Regions from separate parts of the Homo sapiens genome. Here region 2 is linked to region 1. Evidence: promoter capture Hi-C in human tissues and cell types (Jung and others, 2019). All regions are on one chromosome and are shown on one strand. The core of a region is centred on a gene start or on the middle of the fragment in contact, and the rest is flanking DNA. Distances in the headings are between cores, read along the strand shown. Region 1 holds the start of SOWAHB (sosondowah ankyrin repeat domain family member B). Region 2 holds the start of LOC124900866 (putative uncharacterized protein encoded by LINC00596).

The links. Contacts are between HindIII fragments. The study calls those that stand out against the background at their distance.
Region 2: a contact is called between a fragment that was not itself captured here and the fragment with the promoter of SOWAHB in region 1, in 2 of the 25 tissues and cell types used here (IMR-90 fibroblasts and mesendoderm cells).

The regions. Positions count from the first base shown.
Region 1 is chr4:76,894,442-76,900,766 of GRCh38, reverse strand. It overlaps SOWAHB (sosondowah ankyrin repeat domain family member B), which reads left to right and starts at 2,623. Exons shown (of 1, transcript NM_001029870.3): 1 at 2,623-6,325. The coding sequence starts at 2,918. The coding sequence ends at 5,299. RefSeq lists silencers at 2,463-2,532, 2,603-2,902, 3,163-3,272. The HindIII fragment of the contact is 8,540 bases long and covers 1-5,100 here.
Region 2 is chr4:76,837,188-76,843,512 of GRCh38, reverse strand. It overlaps LOC124900866 (putative uncharacterized protein encoded by LINC00596), which reads right to left and starts at 1,855. Exons shown (of 3, transcript XM_047416557.1): 1 at 1,712-1,855. The coding sequence starts at 1,855. The HindIII fragment of the contact is 6,566 bases long and covers 308-6,325 here.

The sequences.
Region 1 (6,325 bases), core at 1,374-3,873:
TCCCGGGTTCACGCCATTCTCCTGCCTCAGCCTCCCGAGTAGCTGGGACTACAGGCGCCCGCCACCACGCCCGGCTAATTTTTTTGTATTTTTAGTAGAGATGGGGTTTCACCATGTTAGCCAGAATGGTCTCGATCTCCTGACCTCGTGATCCGCCCGCCTCAGCCTCCCAAACTGCTGGGATTACAGCTGTGAGCCACCGCGCCCAGCCCCAAAGTTAGCTCTTACTGGAAAATTGTCCTGATCCCCCAAGCTGAGCCTGAGTTCTTCCTTTATGCACCTCCCCTCAACTTCACCAGTATGTGGTGCATGTCTCTGTTAAATCACTTAGCACTCAGGTTCATGCCATTTCTCTTGTTGCTCCTTACTAAATAGAGAGAAATAGTGAATTCTCAAGTACACTTTCTTCTTTATACCCATTTCCAACAGTGTCAGGGTAATGTAGGAGCTTCATAAATATTTTTGGAAATAATGAACTGTATATGTGGGAGGCAGGAAAATTCTCCCTGAGATAATGTAAAGAGCTTTCCAATTAACCACCTCTTTATCCTGGGACAAGAGAGAGAGAGAGGAGAAGGTCTGGACACCAAAGTACCTGGGAATCCAGAAATCTAAAGCAATCAGATTTTTTTTTCTTCTTTTTGGCTCCAATCCTATTAATTCCACCCTCAACTAAAAATGATCTGATTTCAACAAACAGATGCTTTATAATCTCCCCTCACCTGGCCCTCCACTTTCTTTCACTCTAGTCTTTTTATTTCCTTTGAGTCGAAACCTCAGTCCATATTATGGCTCTCTTTTGCAGTTAGCCCCTTATTTTGTAACCAGATGTTTTAAAAAGTAGCAAAGAGGGATTCTTTCCACTTGCCATTCTAAAATGCCCACTTGAGTCTTTCATTTGGTGTTCCTCCTGCCTTAGGTATGGACTCACCTTACTCAGTCCCAACAAGACTCTATACCAGCAAATAAACTCAAAAGAAAGCTGAAATTTAATACAAAACCTTAATTTTAAAAACTATCCTAAAGGCTTGATGTTATGTAGAGACATCAGTGAAAACCACTATCCCTCTCTCAACCCAGTATTGGGTTTGGATCCTAGAAAATGCCAAAAATAGACAAAAATGTTTCCAGTTCTTTTTTTCTGACCTAGATAATGTAAAACCAAAGATTCATTCCTGGAAAAGTGCTAGGGTATTTTTGGGGATTTAAAATCAAGCTCAGTTAATGTGGTCTATAGGGCAGTCACTAAGATTGGTCCATGCTAAAACATGTCTTTGTCAACAATTGTAGGGCCAACACACATACTTTCAATACTCTTTCTTGGCGAGAAGTATAGGAACTATGAGTAATCAGAAATAGAAGAGCAAAAGGAAAAGTGAAAAGATGAGAAGAGTCCATGAGAAAAGAGAGGCAAATTACAGGGAAGGAGAAAATCGAGGTTTTTGAATGGGAAATACAGTGGACATGAGAGGATCTGAGAAACAGACATATTTCCTGTCAGTAGAGGCCGAAGGTAAACAAGGATGTCGTGTAACAGAAAGAAATGGGAAGGCCAAGTTAAAGAAAAGAATGAGAGAAGGCTTGGAACTAAAACAGGTAAAGAGATAATGACAGTGAAAACTATCTCAGGCATGTCAACAGGACTGATAAGGAACAGTGAGGGACATCCAGGATCTCACATCAAAGACAGAAGGGTCAACATGTGGAGAGAGAAAAAGGAAGAGGGATCCCAGCTGTTAGGGGGAAAAGGTGCTGTTAAAGACAGCTCTAGTCTGCATTTTGAACCTTACATTCTGAAAGGAAGCACTTCACCAAGCCAATACAAAACACTGTACAAATCTCTGCTGTTCACAAATTTTAGAGTAAATAAAAGCAAACTAATGCTACACATCAAATACCTTAACTGGCGAGACATAATTCCTAGTTCATTTTAGCCGCCGGGGGCAAGAAGCTATCAAAGTGATTTTTTTTTTCCAGCACCTTAATGTGAGACAAGTATGAAGGAAAGACAAGTATGAAAGAAAAAGTCCCAAACCAATATTGCCCAGTAGTAATTTTCAGAGTGATTTCTCTTTTCAGTATAGACTTGGATGTATTCGGACCCCTTGGAGGGGGCGCCGGAGAAGCGGCCCAGAAAGTATTTCTATATTAAGAAAAATTTAGTTTGGATGCAAAGTGAGTTTTGCGGACCTCAATACAGCCTCGAGAAATCTGAAGTACTCCTCTACAGCGTTAATAAAGAAAGATAACTCAGATTGCCTGTTAACTTGCAGCTTCTCCTCCTCCCCCATCGGCTTCAGCCTGAACTCATCAAAGCACCGGAGGACAGGAACGGACCTTCTATCGCTTTTGTTTCCTGCGTGGCGGAGACTTAGAGGAACGGCCGGTCGCCTACCTGCCTTCCACTTCCCCGGCCGCAGAGCAGTTCGCTGCCGGCTCGGTTCGCCGCCAACCTCACCTACCGGCTGGCTCTCCGGCCTGACTCTTCTGGGATGGGTGGCAGGGGGTGGGGGAGACCTCAGGGGGCGGAGGGACACGAGGAGGCGGGCCTGACCCTTCCCCCAGAGGCAGGGAGGAGGTGCCGCCAGGGCGCAGGTGAAACCGACTCGGCCCTATCCCGGGAACTTTCGCTGTGAGGACTCGTTGCGAGAGGCTAGAGTCGCGCAGGGGCGGCCTCGGAGCCGCCCTCTCTCACGCAGACTGCCGCGGGGACTCAGCCTTGGGGCCACCCGGAGGGGACCCACGGCCCTCCTGGCGCGCTCACGGGCTGCGGGCAGCGCTGGCCTCCGCGGCTGATGGGGGCGGCTAGTGCCGCCCCGGGCGCAGGTGACACTCGCCCGGCCAGGGTTTCCTCTGGCTGGGGAGAGCCCCGGGAGGGCGAGACTCAGACACCTCTGGGGCGGAGGACAAGGCAGCGATGGCCCGAGAGCTGAGCCAGGAGGCACTACTGGACTTTCTGTGCCAGGCTGGGGGCCGCGTGACCAACGCTGCCTTGCTGAGCCACTTCAAGAGCTTTCTCCGAGACCCCGACGCGTCCCCCAGCCAGCACCAGCACCGCCGCGAGCTCTTCAAGGGCTTCGTCAACTCGGTCGCCGCAGTGCGCCAGGACCCCGACGGCACCAAGTACGTGGTGCTCAAGAGGAGATACAGGGACCTTTTGGGGGAGGAGGGGCTGCAGCGACCCCGCGAGCCGCCCGCGGCCGCCCCCAGTGCAGGGGGAGCTGCGCCCTGCTCCCCGCGAGGCGCGCGCCGGGGGGAGCCGCCCCAGCAGCAGCCCAGGCGGCGGCGGCGCGAGAAGGAGCCGGAGGAGGAGCCAGCAGGTGCAGCAGCCAGAGCCGCCGACGCAGCTTGCAATGGACTCCCGGGCAGCGACTCCCGTAGGGCGCCCGGGAAGGGCGGCGGATCGAAGGGCAGTCCCGGACAGAGGCCGCCGGTGCCCGCAGCTGCAGCGGCAGGGGCCCAGGCGAGAGCGAGCTGCGCGGCGGCGAAGACGCAGGGCCGCTGCTGCTGGGAATGCCTCCAGAACAACCTGGCTGTACTGCCGGGAGAGCTCGGCGCACTCCCGCACTCGGCCACCGCGGAGGAGAAGCCGGCACGGGCTCTGCCTGCCCAGGATGACCGCGGGGCTTCCAGGGAGCGGGAAGAAGGCGCGCTAGCTGAGCCGGCGCCTGTGCCTGCAGTGGCTCACTCGCCTCCCGCCACCGTCGAGGCTGCGACAAGCAGGGCTTCCCCGCCTGCTCTCCTGCCCGGCCCCGCTCCCCGCGGAGACCGGCCGGAGCTGCTGACCCCCAGCTCCCTGCATTATTCGACCCTGCAGCAGCAGCAGCAGCGCACTCGAGAGTGGGTGGCCAGGCACCCGCAGGTGCCCGAGGCCCGTGATCAGGGCCCTATCCGCGCCTGGTCGGTGCTGCCAGACAACTTCCTCCAGCTGCCCTTGGAACCCGGCTCCACGGAGCCTAATTCAGAGCCGCCAGACCCCTGTCTTTCCTCGCACTCTCTCTTTCCTGTTGTTCCGGATGAGTCCTGGGAATCCTGGGCGGGGAACCCTTCATTGACTGTCTTTCGCAGCATTCGTTGTCAGCTGTCCCTCCAAGATCTGGATGACTTTGTGGACCAGGAGAGTGATGGCAGTGAGGAGAGCAGCAGTGGGCCCAAAGACTCCCCGGGGGCTTCTGAAGAGGGGCTGCAGGTTGTCTTGGGAACCCCAGATAGGGGGAAGCTCAGGAATCCAGCTGGGGGCCTTTCTGTATCTCGGAAGGAGGGCAGCCCCAGCCGGAGCCCTCAGGGTCTCAGAAACAGAGGGGATGGTCACATCTCTCAGCAGGTCCCTGCAGGGGCTAATGGCCTTGCAGGCCACCCCCTGAAGCCTTTGCCTTGGCCAGTTCCTAAGTTAAGGAGGTCCCTCAGGAGGAGCTCTCTGGCAGGGAGAGCCAAATTGTCCTCCTCTGATGAGGAGTACCTCGATGAGGGCTTGCTGAAAAGAAGTCGGCGCCCACCTCGATCCAGGAAGCCCTCCAAGGCAGGAACGGCACCCAGCCCAAGGGTTGATGCAGGTTTATCACTAAAACTTGCAGAGGTTAAGGCTGTTGTGGCCGAGCGGGGTTGGCGACACAGCCTGTGGGTCCCCAGTGGGGAGGGGTCTGCAGCCTTGGCCCCCCACAGAACTTCTGAGCACAAATCATCCCTGGTTCCACTAGATGCCAGGGAGCATGAGTGGATTGTGAAGCTTGCCAGTGGCTCCTGGATTCAGGTGTGGACTTTGTTCTGGGAGGACCCTCAACTGGCCTTGCACAAAGACTTTTTGACTGGGTACACTGCGTTGCACTGGATAGCCAAACATGGTGACCTCAGGGCCCTTCAGGACTTGGTGTCTGGAGCAAAGAAGGCAGGGATTGTCCTTGATGTAAACGTGAGGTCCAGTTGTGGATATACCCCGCTGCACCTTGCAGCCATTCACGGCCACCAGGGGGTCATCAAATTGCTAGTGCAAAGGTTGGCTTCTCGGGTAAATGTCAGGGACAGCAGTGGGAAGAAGCCATGGCAGTATCTAACCAGTAATACCTCTGGGGAAATATGGCAGCTGTTGGGAGCTCCTCGGGGCAAGCCCATTTTCCCTGTCTATCCCTTAGTTGGAAGTTCTTCCCCTACCAGAAAGGCCAAGAGCAAGGAAATATCTAGAAGTGTCACCCGAAAAACTTCCTTCGCTGCACTACTCAAAAGTCAGCACAACAAGTGGAAACTGGCCAACCAGTATGAGAAATTCCACAGTCCAAGGGAAAGAGAAGAGTATAGTGACTGAGGTGGGTCTCTCTGTCCAACATGCAGGCAGCACTCCCTCATCCTGCTCAGTGAGAGAATTCAGGGGGAATAGAAAAGCTGCTGAGAGTTGGTAAAGAGGATGGTCGAGTGAGATGGTGTTGACCTCCCTGGATCTTATGTCACTACATCCTGGACCTCAAGAGGGTCATCCAAGCTTTTTGAAAGCTGAACTCCTTGACTGGAGAAACCTAGACAAGAGGCGGGGCCAGGTGCTTGATATCTAGGAGGCATTCTTCCTCTTCCCTTGCCACCATGGAGCTGGGCACAGTAAGCCATATTGTTTCCTGAAGCAGGAGTCCCAGGCCTTGGCTAGAGAGGGAACAGATGTCTAACAAAAAGAGAAGCAATTCGAGGAATTGATGAAGCACAATTAAAATCCTCTCTGGCTAGTAGCTCTCTGGCTTCTGTTCATTTGAAGAATAAATCTTGGCTGACAGTGGGAAGCACCAGGTTTGAAATCAGATGGCTTTATTTTTCTTTTTTTGGCATTTAAATCAGTGAAATAAAATTATTACTGGAGAGCACAGTTCGATTTAAGAGATTCCTCAGCCCTGTTCTCAAGTCTTCTTTTGAATTCCATGCATGGTGGTTAATGGGTAAAATGATTAATGCCTCCTTTGGGTCTTCTCACTGATCAGAGAAGCAGCTGGGTAAGATCCAGTTATGACTTGGACTCCATTCCTAAGAGGAATGACTGTCATTCAGGCCCTGCTTTTTTGTATCAACCCGAAGGGAACTTTCCAAATGTAAAAACCATGTGGCTCATTTACATAGTGACTGAAACCATCTTTCATGGAAACTCCCTGTGTAACAAACAGAATTATCGTTACTAGTTTTCAGAGGTTTGAATGGCCAACGTTTGTACTCATAAAAAGAGAGAAATGATTTCACTCTGGGGAAACAGTAAGGGTTAAGAGAATGCATCCTTACCAGGACTATCTAAGCCGCTAAATATAATTGTATTTGCACTAAACTTGTTGCCAATTAAGATTAAATATTAGCCTTT
Region 2 (6,325 bases), core at 2,341-4,840, 58 kb after region 1:
CTGGACTACAGTACAAGAAAAGGGATTACTAACAGAGTATGATAGCCTCGCTGAAATGAGGAGACACAGATCAGACTTTGGGGAGGTCAAGACAACAATAATTTATAAGGCAAGTTATCAGAGAGAAAGAGTATGCAGGCCAGGTGTGGTGGCTCATGCCTGTAATCCTAGCAGTTTGGGAGGCCGAGGAGGGCAGATCACCTGAGGTCAGGAGTTTGAGACCAGTCTGGCCCATATGGCAAAACCCCGTCTCTACTAAAAATACAAAAACAAAACAAAACAAAACAAATTAGCCAGGTGTGGTGGTGCGTGCCACCCAGCTACTCGGGAGGCTGAGGCAGGAGAATCACTTGAACCCGGGAGGCGGAGGTTGCAGTGAGCCGAGATCAGGCCACTGCACTCCAGCCTGGGCAACAGAGCGAGACTCTGTCTCAAAACCAAACAAACAAACACATAAAAACATTAGCCAGGCATGGTGTCAGCTGCCTGTAATCCCAGCTACTCGGGAGTGAGCCGAGATAGTGCCACTGCACTCCAGTCTGGGTGACAGAGCGAGACTCCATCTTAAAAAAAAAAAAATAAAAGGATCCAGAGAAGGGATTGCATAAGTATTCATAGGTGTCATTTTGAGTCTCTAGCCAAATACCAGACTGCATATGCGTAAGGTGAGACTCCGTACGTTGGGCACATAAAACAATTATCAGGGAAAGAAAAACTACCAGGGAACTGCAAACTGAATAATAATTGGAACTTACAGAAAGTTGAGAGACACTCAGTAGGGCCCAGAAAAGGCCACCCCCTAGGGGTAAGGCCAGAGTGGTCATAAAATAGAGGGTACTTTAGGCCCTCCCAAACAAAGCTTAAAAATAAGCCTCAAAAAGACTAAGCTAGGCTGGGCATGGTTGGTCATGTCTATAATCCCAACATTTTGGGAGGCTGGGGCAGGATGATCACTTGAGCCCAGGGGTTCAAGACCACCCTGAGCAACATGGTGAGACTCTCATCTCTACAAAAAATTTAAAAAATTAGCCAGGTGTGGTGGCATATGCCTATGGTTGCAGCTACTTGGGAGACTGCTTGAGCCCAGGAGACTGAGGCTATGACCACAACACTGTACTCTAGCCTGGGTGAGAGAGCTAGATACTGTCTCACACACAAAAAAAAAAAAAAAAAAAAAAAAAGACTAAGCTGATTCCCAACCAAGTTGACTGCCTGCAAGAATCAAGTACAACAAGGCCGGGCATGGTGGCTCACACCTGTAATCCCAGTGCTTTGGGAGGTCAAGGCAGATGGATCATTTGAGATCAGGAGTTCGAGACCAGCCTGGCCAAAGTGGTGAAACCCCGCCTCTACTATAAATAAATAAATAAATAAATAAAATTAGCTGGGTGTGGTGGTGCATGCCTGTAACCCCAGCTACTCAGGAGGCTGAGGCAGGATAATTGATTGAACCTGGAAGACGGAGGTTGCAGTGAGCTGAGATCATGCCACTGCCCTCCAGCCTGGGCAACAGAGTGAGACTCCATCTCAACAACAACAAAAAAAGAATAAAATGTTACAGTTTTTAAACATAAAAGGCCGAGCATGGTGGCTCATGTCTGTAATCCCAGCACTTTGGGAGGCCGAGGCGGGTGGACCACTTAAGATCAAGAGTTCAAGACCAGCCTGGTCAACATGGTGAAACCCTGTCTCTACTAAAAATGCAAAAATTAACTGGGCATGGTGGTGCATGCCTATAATCCCAGCTACTTAGGAGGCTGAGGCAGGAGAATTGCTTGAACCCTGGAGGCGGAAGTAGCAGTGAGCCAAGATCGTGCCACTGCACTTTAGCCTGGGCGACAGAGTGAGACTCCATCTCAAAAAAAGAAAAGGAAAAACATAACATTCACAATGTGAAAATCCAATAAAAACATTACTAGACATGAAAGAAAACATGAAAATGTGATCCTTAACCAGAAGAAAACCAATGAATAGAAATGGGCCCAGAAATGATATAAACAATGAAATTAGCAGCCAAGAACTTTAAGAGAATTATATTGTGAATATGTTAAGGAATTAACATATAGTGAGGATACAAGTATTAAAAAATAATACCAATGGAGCTGGGTTCAATAACATATGTATAAGTAAAAGGTATGACAAAGGCAGAGTAGGGAAATCAGATTGTTATAAAGGTCTAATATGATATATGCAGCAGTACAATTTTATTTGAAGGTAGACTGTGATAAGATAAGGATGCATATTGTAAACCCTAGAGCAATCACCATAAAAATAGACTAAAGATGTATAAACTGGCCGGGTGCAATGGCTCATGCCTGTAATCACAACAGTTTCGGGGGTTGAGGTGGCAGATTTGCTTGAGTCCAGGAGTTTCAGAACAGTATGGGCAACATCGCAAAACTCTATTTCTAGAAAAAATACAAAAACTAGCCAGGCATGGTGGTGAATGCCTGTAGTCCCAACTACTCAGAAGGCTGAGGTGGGAGGATCACTTCTTTAGCCTGGGAGGCGGAGGTTGCAGTGAGCCTAGATGGTGCCACTGCACTCCAGCCTGGATGACAGAGCAAGACCGTATGTATTGCCAAAATAAATAAATAAATAATAAAAAATAAAATAAAATAAAATAAATAAGTTATAAACCAATGAGGGACATTAAATAAAAAAAATCCAAAAGAGGCCAGGCATGGTGGCTCACGCCTGTAATCCCAGCACTTTGGGGGGCTGAGGCAGGCGGATCACGAGGTCAAGAGATCGAGACCATCCTGGCCAACATGGTGACACCCTGTCTCTACTAAAAAAGCAAAAATTAGCTGGGCCTGGTGGTGTGCACCTGTAGTCCCAGCTACTTGGGAGGCTGAGGCAGGAGAATCGCTTGAACCCAGGAGGTGGAGGTTGCGGTGAGCTGAAATCGTGCTACTGCAGTCCAGCCTGGTGACAGAGTGAGACTCTGTCTCGAAAAAAGAAAAAAAAAAAAAGAAAATAGGAAACAGAAAAAAGTGAACAAAGAAGAGCTGAGACAAAAAGCAAAATGGTTGCTATAAATTCAACAATTGCATTAAATATAAATGGACTAAATGCATCAATTAAAAGCAGAGATTATCAGATAGGAAAAAAAAACAAGACACATACATGTCTTCTAAAAGAAACACACTCTAAATACAAAAACAGAGGCTGAGTAATCTTAGCACTTTGGGAAGCCGAGGAGGAAGGGAACACTTGAGCCCAAGAGTTCAAGACCAGCCTGGGCAACAGAGTGAGACCCTATCTCTACAAAAAAAAAAAAAAAAAAAAAATCCAAAAAACTAGCCAGGCATGGTGGCATGTGCCTGTAGTCCTAGCTACGGTGGAGGCTGAGGTGGGAAGATTGCTTGAGCACAGGAGGTTGAGGCTGCAGTGAGCTGTGATTGTACCACTGGAAAGAGAGAAAGAGAGACAGAGAGAGAGAGAGAGAAGAGAAGAGAAAGAAAGAAGAAGAGAAGAGAAGAAGAAACTAATGTAAAGACGGAGTTTTAAAATAAATGAATCAAAATACACCATGCAAATATTAATCAAGAGAAAGCTGGCCGGGTGTAGTGGCTCATGCCTGTAATCCCAGTACTTTGGGAGGCCGAGGTGGGTGGATCACTTGAGGTCAAGAGTTAGAGACCAGCCTGGCCAATATGGTGAAACCTCATCTCTACTAAAAATACAAAAATTAGCTGGGCATGGTGGCAGGTGCCTGTAGTCCTAGCTGCTCGGGAGCCTGAGGCATGAGAATCACTCGAACCTGGGAGGTGGAGGTTGCAGTGAGCCGAGATCGTGCCACTGCACTCCAGCCTGGGTGACAAAGTGAAACTCCATCTCAAAAGAAAAAAAAAAGCTATATAGCTATATGAAAGTGAACTTTAGGACATAACTATCATCAACAATAGAGGGACATTTCATAATGAAAAAAGGGTCACTTCATAATGATATATGTGTGTGTGTGTAGCTATTCTAAATGTGTATGCATTTAATAACATATTCAAAATACATGAAAAACTGACAGAACTGAAATAGACAAAGCCACAATTATAGTTAGAGATTTTAATAATTTATAAAATAAATAGATAACCAGTAAGGATATAGATTTGAAAAAAAAACACTATCTACCAACATAACCCAGTTGGCATAGATAAGCACTACACCTAACAGTGGCAGAATACATATTCTTTCCAAGTACATACGGAATATTCATCAAGGGAGACCATAGGGTAGGTTATGAAGTAAGTCTAAATAAATTTAAAAGAAGTATATCTTCTGATGATAATGTAATACAATTAAATGAGAAAAATGTATCTATAAAATCTCTGAAATATTTGGAAATTAAACAAGGCACTTCTAGGCTGGGCGCAGTGGCTCACACCTGTAATTCCAGCACTTTGGGAGGCTGAGGCAGGCAGATCACCTGAGGTCAGGAATTTGAGACCAGCCTGGCCAACACGGCAAAACTCCGTCTCTACTAAAAATACAGGAAAAAAAAAAAATTAGCTGGATGTGGTGGTGTGCGCCTGTAATCCCAGTACTCAGGAGACTGAGGCAAGAGAATTGCTTGAACCCAGGAGGCGGAGGTTGTAGTGAGCTGAGAAGGCACCACTGCCCTCCAGCCTGGGTGACAGAGCGGGACTCTATCTCTAAAAAAAAAAAATAGAAATTAGAAGAGAAGTTAGAAAATATTTCCACTTGAGGCTGGGCATGGTGGCTCACGCCTGTAATCCCAGCACTTTGGGAGGCCGAGGCGGGTGGATCACCTGAGGTCAGGAGTTCAAGACCAGCCTGACCAGCATGGAGAAACCCTGTCTCTACTAAAAATACAAAATTAGCCAGGCATGGTGGCACATGCCTGTAATCCCAGCTACTCGGGAGGCTTAGGCAGGAGAATCGCTTATACCCAGGAGGCGGAGGTTGTGTTGAGCCAAGATTGCGCCATTGCACTCCAGCCTGGGCAACAAGAGCGAAACTCCATCTCAAAAAAAAAAAGAAAAAAAAAAGAAAGAAAGAAAAAAGGAAATATTTCCACTTGAATGACAAGGAAATATTTCCACTTGAATGACAATGAAATATAAAATGTCAGAATTTGCAGGATTCAATTAAACAGTGTTTAGAGGGAAATTTATAGCTTTAAATGTCTACATTATAAAAAAAGTTAGTTCCAAAATCAACATCTAAGCATTCCACCTCAAGAAGCTAAAAGATTAAAAGAAGCTCAAAGCAAGTAGAAGGCAGGAAATAATAAAGAACAGAAATCAATGAAATAAAAATGGGCAAAAATAGAAAGCCCAGTTAAAACAAAAGTTGGGTTTTTTTTTTTGAAGGTTCAATATAATTGATAAATCTTTAGCTGAGCTGAACAAAAAAGGTGGGGGGAGCGAACACGCATTACCAGCATTAGAAATGAAAGAAGTGCTAGCACTACAGACTATGAACATTTATGACAATACATTTGACAATTTAGGTGAAATCAGGAAATTCTTTAAAGACACAGGTAACTAAGATATAGCAAGAAATGGAGCAGAATGTCTCAGATCCTGGGCTCTGGAGTCAGGCTGCTAGGGTTGGAATATGTGCTCCTTCACCCACTAGCTGTGTGAGATTGACCAAATTCCTTAACTTTTCTGTGCCTCAGTTTCTTCTTCTGTAATATCAGGATAATAGGGTTTTTGTGAAGATTAAATTATTTTGTTAAGATCCATGCCTGACACTATGTAAGGGTTAGCTTTTATCGTTTCTTAAATCTTATATGATTTTTCTGGGTTGAGACTTACAATTGGTTCTCATGGCTCAAATGAAAGAAAGTTGATGCTACTTGGGAGGCTGAGGCCAGAGGACCACTTGAGGCCAAGGAGTTCGAGGATGCAGTGAGCTATGATTGCACCACTGCACTCCAGTCTGGGTGACGGAGTGAGACCAGAGAGTTGAAGATCTTGGGGCAATGCTAGAACTTTTCTTGGTCAATAAGATAGGCTATTAATGGATATAGCTAGAAAGTTCATACATATAGTTCAAAAGTCTATTGGTGGTTTGTTTAAATTCAACATAGAAAATCAATCAACTTCAAAAAGAGAAAAGCCCTGATGAAACATACTCCCCTTTGCCACAACCTCCTAGCCCCTGACATTATTCACTTCCCCACACGATCCTGAAAGAGAGTTAAAAGGTTGACCTCATGGTATGCTGAAAGACTTATGTGTTCAGTGGTCAAAGGGCAGCCAAAAGTAACTCTTGGAAAAAGGGCACTCCTGGGTCAGTTAGCAGATTGGGGGAAATGCAGTTTATCTTCTATGGTTTCCAATTGACGAGGAACAGA